Regions from separate parts of the Homo sapiens genome. Here region 1 is linked to region 2. The links are contacts of gene promoters, found by promoter capture Hi-C in human tissues and cell types (Jung and others, 2019). All regions are on one chromosome and are shown on one strand. Each heading gives the region's core, a stretch centred on a gene start or on the middle of the fragment in contact. The rest is flanking DNA. Distances are from core to core; before and after follow the strand shown. Region 1 overlaps FKBP1A (FKBP prolyl isomerase 1A). Region 2 holds the start of NOP56 (NOP56 ribonucleoprotein).

The links. Contacts are between HindIII fragments. The study calls those that stand out against the background at their distance.
Region 1: a fragment that was not itself captured here is called in contact with the fragment with the promoter of NOP56 in region 2 in 1 of the 25 tissues and cell types used here (dorsolateral prefrontal cortex).

Annotation. Positions count from the first base shown.
Region 1 is chr20:1,386,122-1,389,157 of GRCh38, forward strand. The region is part of intron 2 of FKBP1A (FKBP prolyl isomerase 1A); the gene reads right to left. The region is part of intron 2 of FKBP1A-SDCBP2 (FKBP1A-SDCBP2 readthrough (NMD candidate)); the gene reads right to left. Among named protein-coding and RNA genes, the nearest start is that of MIR6869, 5.3 kb to the right of the region's middle. The HindIII fragment of the contact is 7,512 bases long and covers 1-3,036 here.
Region 2 is chr20:2,651,121-2,654,295 of GRCh38, forward strand. NOP56 (NOP56 ribonucleoprotein) reads left to right here and starts at 1,512. Exons shown (of 12, transcript NM_006392.4): 1 at 1,512-1,543; 2 at 1,722-1,811; 3 at 2,159-2,273. The coding sequence starts at 1,541. It overlaps MIR1292 (microRNA 1292), which reads left to right and starts at 1,657; the gene lies at 1,657-1,722. LOC105372505 (a long non-coding RNA gene) reads right to left here and starts at 1,344. Exons shown (of 5, transcript XR_007067502.1): 1 at 1,240-1,344. SNORD110 (small nucleolar RNA, C/D box 110) reads left to right here and starts at 3,092; the gene lies at 3,092-3,166. RefSeq lists a silencer at 996-1,635 and an enhancer at 2,136-2,225. The HindIII fragment of the contact is 12,812 bases long and covers 1-3,175 here.

The DNA.
Region 1 (3,036 bases), core at 287-2,786, 1.3 Mb before region 2:
TATCAAAGGTACCCTTTTCTCCTCCTGGCCTGTGTATATACCTGGAAGACGCTTTCCTCCTGCCTGACTGCACCATACACACCCAAGACCAAATGGCACTTCCTCCAAGAAGTTCTAGCCTATAGGTGTAGGTTGCCTGAGGTACTTTCATTGTAACTGACCACTCCCTACAGGGTAAGCTTCTTGAGGGCAACATTGAGGCTTTGCCCAGCTCCTTATATATTCACTGAGTGACCGAGGGAATGCCAGGTCCTAACTGGCCACTCATTCAAACAGTCACTGAATAGCTACTCTATGCCAAGACTGATGGGGAGACCTTGGAGAACAACACTAGTGTGGGTCTGGCCTCCTGGAGCCTTCAGTCGGTTGGGGAAAGAGCAGATGTTTAACTACACGGATCCTGACTATGATGGGGGCTAAGAAAATAGATGGGTGCATTGTTGCAGAATTAGAAGCATGCATGTATGCATCCAAAGTGTTACTTAAGCTGTGCTATAAAGAAAAGAGCCTGTCATGCAGTGGGGAGTGGGGGCAGTGTGGTGGCACCTAAGCAAAGGGGCAGAGACCTCCATGTGGGAAAAGGCTTGGAGCATTCGAGGAATGAATGCAGGCCAAGGTGGCTTGAGCTCCTGGGAGAGGAAGAGCAAATGTAACAGAAAGAGACAGTAGCATCTAAGAACTGGTTATTTCTACCTCCCCGACTTTCTGCACTGCTAGAATACACCTGGTCAAAATCAAAGGGGTCCAGGGGAGGGAATGCAGAGACTTGGTTAAGCTTTTTAGCAGGAAAAGAAAACAAAAAAACAGAAGAAAAAATAGAAGTAAAAATAAACAAATGTCACCATGAGCACCAAAGGGAGAACTGAATGCTATGTGATTAAGTTATTCATAACCTTGGCTTCTTCCATGGGAAACAGCAGGTGACAATATTTTTAGAGAAAATTCCAAGGCAGACAAATGATTTCCAGTTTATGGATACAATAAACCCCTCAGTAATTCATAAAAATCAGTTTAAGCCTAAAAATGTTCTAGTTAAAACATCTATGAGTAAATAGGTGAATTTATGGTATGTAAATTATATTCAATAAAGCTGTTACCAAGAAAAAAAAAGGTCATGGACCCCACTGAAAGGAACCAGAGCTCTTTGAAAGATGGCTGATAATTGGACCAGAGTAGTGAAACCGAGAAATGGATGAAGGAATGGTGGGAGCCTGTCAAAAAGGTACTGGAGCCAGCTTAAAGGGCTCCTACTGGCCAAATTTAGGATGATATTAGCATCAAAAAGAATAATGGGTATCATTGATCTTAAGGCCCTGACAAAAAATTTCAGCCCACAGTACAGTCAAAGCAAATAGAGGGGGAAAAAGTCACTTGCCCCCACTGGGAATGGCAATACCCCATCAGTTAACATTCATTTTTCATTTTAAAAATTGGTAATTAAAGGCTGGGCACGGTGGCTCATGCCTGTACTACCAGCACTTTGGGAGGCTAAGGAGGGTGGATCACTTGAGGCCAGGAGTTTGAGACTAGCCTGGGAAACCTGGCGAAACCCGTCTCTACAAAAAATACAAAAATTAGGACAGGTGGCATGCACCTGTATGCCCAACTATTCAGAAGGCCGGATGGGAGGCCGGGATGGGAGTCTGGGAGGTCGAGGCTACAGTGAGCCATGATCAAGCCACTGCACTCCAGCCTGAGTGACAGAGACACTGTCTCAAAAAATAAAAATAAAATTTGGTATTTAAAGGTAAAGAATTACTTTACCTTATCTTATAGAAGGATAACAGCTAATAAATTTAGAAAGAATGAAGGAATTTTAAAAATCAACACTTTGTGAATGCCAGTGACTTCTTCAGGGGAGAATGATCAGATGGTGTAAACACCACTAGGTGAAAGGCTGATGAGCAAGAGACCATCTATGGCTACCTAAGCACTCCACAGATCACTGCTAAATGCAAAGGGAAAAATGTACCTTTACAGAAAAGATCAAATTTAGCATCACAACTAGTGATGTTTCCCATGTGTGCTGAGGATGAAGTACTCACACTAAAATGTTTAAACGGAATCTATTCAGACACTTAAAAGATTAAACATCCGGTTCAGAAAATCAAGGCAGGGAACAAGTTAAACAATACCATGAGAAAACAGTAAGACAGATGTGGAGTATTCTATAACTAGCCTGCTCTCTTTGAAGAAATCAGAGTTATTAAGAAAAAAACAGCGTAAGGACTCTTCTAGACTGAGATTACAGACATAACAACTGCGATGAGTGAGGCTCAATGGAACTGTGGTTTTAAAAAAGAGCAACACTTTGGAGACAACTGGGTAGTCTCGATAGGCATTTGCTTCACAGCAGGCATCGTTACTCCCATTTTATAGACAGCATGTGGAAGCTGGGAACTGTGGGACAATTTGTTCAAGCTCTCATAGCCCGTTGTATGGCAGGGTCAAGATCAGAACACAGCGAAGAACCCACATGCTCTTTGGGGATCACTGTCCACCTGGCACCACTTCTGCCCACTGCCTGAGCTGGCACTCCACACACCTGGGATACAACCAGTGTCCTGTTTCTGCCTTTGCCCCCAAAAGCCCATTGTCCACACAGTAGCCAGAAGGAGCGTGGGTTGGGGGGGCGGGGGCGGGCATTAAAAGCCAAGCCAGCCAGTGGCTCTCACCTGAGTTAGAAAAAGGCAACGTTTTTATAAAAACCAACGAGGCTCCACCATCCCCTCATCTCCTGCCACATACCCTTTCACACAATCCACTTCCTGTTCCTCTAACGCACCGGTCTTCTTACTGTTCCTCTAATGCACCGAGCAGGCTCCAGCCTCAGGGTCCTGCACTAGCTCTTCCCTCTGCCTGGATACTCTAGACAGCCCTGTAGCTCCCTCTCCAATGTCCTTTGAGTGAATGTTAAAATGCCATTTTTTTCAGAGGCCTTTTCCAATCACCCTCACGAAAAGCAGCCAACTTCCCTTCCCATCCCTCACTCTGCTTTAATCTCTCCAGCGCTTCTTACTACCTGATGTGCTCCAT
Region 2 (3,175 bases), core at 262-2,761:
ATCTTAAGTGATCCGCCTGCCTCGGCCTCCTAAAGTGCTGGATTATAGCCCACCCAATCCTATTTTTTTAAATGCTGTCCATTAATGCATTCTGACTTCTTGCTTGAAAACCCCTGGTTTAGTGGATAAGCACCTGTAACTCCAGGAAGATTCAGGATTAAGGGCAGAAATAATGAAGTAAATTGAAGTATTAGCATTAGTATTTTCCATTACATTTTGGAATCGTCTATTTTGATGTATTCACGACGGTTAAAATAATTTAACATGCTAATGTATGGATTAACTTGGCAATTCCATTTTAAAATATTAAATGGAATAACGATTCTGACTCGTAAGTAGACATGTGTAACAGAATTCAACCACATCTGTAAACCATATTGAAATTATGAGAGTAAGATTTACCAACCACATTTAGGTTTGACATATTAGATTTGTGAGTGAACTATGTACTTGGATTTTGTCAAGTAACTCAATCGCTTAACAAAATAACAATTAAATGTATAAATGCAGTTTATAGCTATACATTATTTTTAAAAATCCCCTTCGAATGACTCTTTAAAACATACCAGGGGATACGCTACTTAAGTATAACTAGGTTTTGGATTTATAACGTTAATATTAATTATTAAAGCAAAACTCATTTCTAAAGAGTCGCCTGAGTGCCCAAAAGACGCCCTCAAGGACAGGGAAGCAGCTGCGATTCACTCAGCGATCACCAGCGCCCAGAATTCAGGGCCGCCCAAGCGGAGGAGCAACACGTGGCCCAGCAAAAGGAGCTGGGTCCCGTGCAGCACAGCAACAAGAAACTGGCCTAGGAAGACGCTGGAGCGTCTTTCTTTCGCACGTTACTGCCTGCTACAGTCATTTAAAAAAAAAAAACCAAAAACAAAAAAAAGAAATAAATTAATAGTACGAAGAAAACTGCGCGAGCTACATTCCCAGCAGGGTCTGCGCCAGAGCGCGCCAGGCACCGCTCCCGTTACGGGTGGGAGGAAAGGATGCACCGCCCACCCGGCGCCGGGGAGGCTCGTCCCCGAGTAGGGGACGGGAACGCCTGGGTCCCGGGGACGTGGGGCGCAGGGTCTGGGGCCCGAGGCCACGGACGAAGCGGGAAGCCGGCTAGGCAGCGGTCTCTGTCTGGGATGGACGCCGCGCCCCACGCGGACCTCCCGCCCCGACTTCACCCAGCTCTGCTGCCCGTAACTCATATGACAAGAACATCAGGAACCGGACTATTACCCCGAAAGGGCCTTCCCAAGTCGTTTCGCCGCCTGCAGTGCCCGACCGGGGGCCGCGCGTCCCCGGCAACCACGCCCGCCCGCGCAGCTGCAGAGGCCGGAAAAGGCCCGCTCGCCCGCGCTCGGCACCACCCAGCCCGCGCTCCGGGCGATACCACCCTGGGCGGCCCCTCCAAAGGCCGGAGATGGTGTCGTCCCCGGCCTCCGATTGGTCGGGGGGGCGGGGGCGTGGCCTCTGGAGCCTGGTTCCGCGCGCCGGAGCGCGCTAGCCGCATTGCGAGCCGAACCCGGGAGCTGGCGCCATGGTGAGGAGTGGTTGCGGGGCGCGGGCGACGCGACGGTGGGGGTTTCGGCCTGCGTTCGGGCCGCAGACAGGGCCTGGGCCTGGGCCTGGGCCTGCGCCTGCGCCTGCGCCTGCCCTGGGAACGGGTTCCGGCAGACGCTGAGGTTGCGTTGACGCTCGCGCCCCGGCTCCCGTTCCAGGTGCTGTTGCACGTGCTGTTTGAGCACGCGGTCGGCTACGCGCTGCTGGCGCTGAAGGAAGTGGAGGAGATCAGTCTGCTGCAGCCGCAGGTGGGTGAGATCCGTGGGCTCCTTTGGCGGCCCCGCAGACCCTCATCGCGCGGGTCCCAGCATGCACAGCGCGCTCCCACGTGGCCGGCCGAGCGGTTCGGGGCGGGGGGACGGGCCTGGAAAGCTCTAGATCCGGGGGTCTTTACCTTGACCCATGGGTAGAATCGCTCTAGCAATTAGAAATAAGCCTCCCGGACGCCGCCCCCGAACGATTAAAGCAGAAGCTGGGATGTGGGGCCCAGGTATCAGCATATTTTAAGAGCTTCCAAGGCTGAGAACCGCTGCTTGACTGCGCCGCAGAGGCAGGAGGGAGGGAAGGAAACCACTTAGCCTCTTTCTCCCCCCAGGTGGAGGAGTCTGTGCTCAACCTGGGCAAATTCCACAGCATCGTTCGTCTGGTGGCCTTTTGTCCCTTTGCCTCATCCCAGGTTGCCTTGGAAAATGCCAACGCCGTGTCTGAAGGTAAGTCGGCCACCGCCAAGTGTCACAGAGAGATGTGGTTCCTTTCGGTATCCTCTCGGGCAGCTTGTGATAGTATTTGCCGTCCTTGGCTGGCTCTGAGTCTGATAGGCGTGAGGCAGTATTTGAGCCATACAATGTGTAATTTGAAATAATTGTCTTCACAGAGCTCAAGGTCTGGGAACTGTGCTAGACCAAACTGTTTAAGCAGACGATGTGGAATGTGTGTTAACGTTTCCTTGTGGGCACTGTAGTGACAAACTATTTTTTATTTTTATTTTTTTTGAGATGGAGTCTGTCCCCCAGGCTGGAGTGCAGTGGCAAGATCTGGGCTCACTGCAACCTCTGCCTCCCTGGTTCAGGCGATTCTCCTGCCTCAGCCTCCCGAGTAACTGGGATTACAGGCCTGTGCCAGCCACCACACCCGGCTAATTTTGTATTTTTGGTAGAGACGGGGTTTCACCATGTTGGCCAGGCTAGTCTCCATCTCCTGACCTCGTGATCCGCCCGCCTCGACCTCCCAAGGTGCTGAGGTTGCAGGCGCGAGCGACGGTGCCCGGCCGACAAAGGGGGGTTTCTTAAAGGGGGTCGGCTTAACACCTACTTGTGCCTGAGGTTTTGCCTAAACACAATCAAGTGTCTGGTTCTCTGCTTTCTGTTCGATTGGAAAGGGCAGTTGGGTAAACACAGGCTGAGAAAAAAAGGTTTGGTTCCAGAAGGCAAATTCTACGAAATACTCGAGGGTGTGTTACAAGCTATTATTTATTGCCCACTTGTGCTATCAGACCTGAATGCAGTTGTTCCCATGGCTGGGCCAGGCTTTGCAGTGATGACTTGCGAATCAAATCTGTCAATCCCCTGAGTGCAATCACTGATGTCTCCATGTCTCTGAGCAATGCCTGATG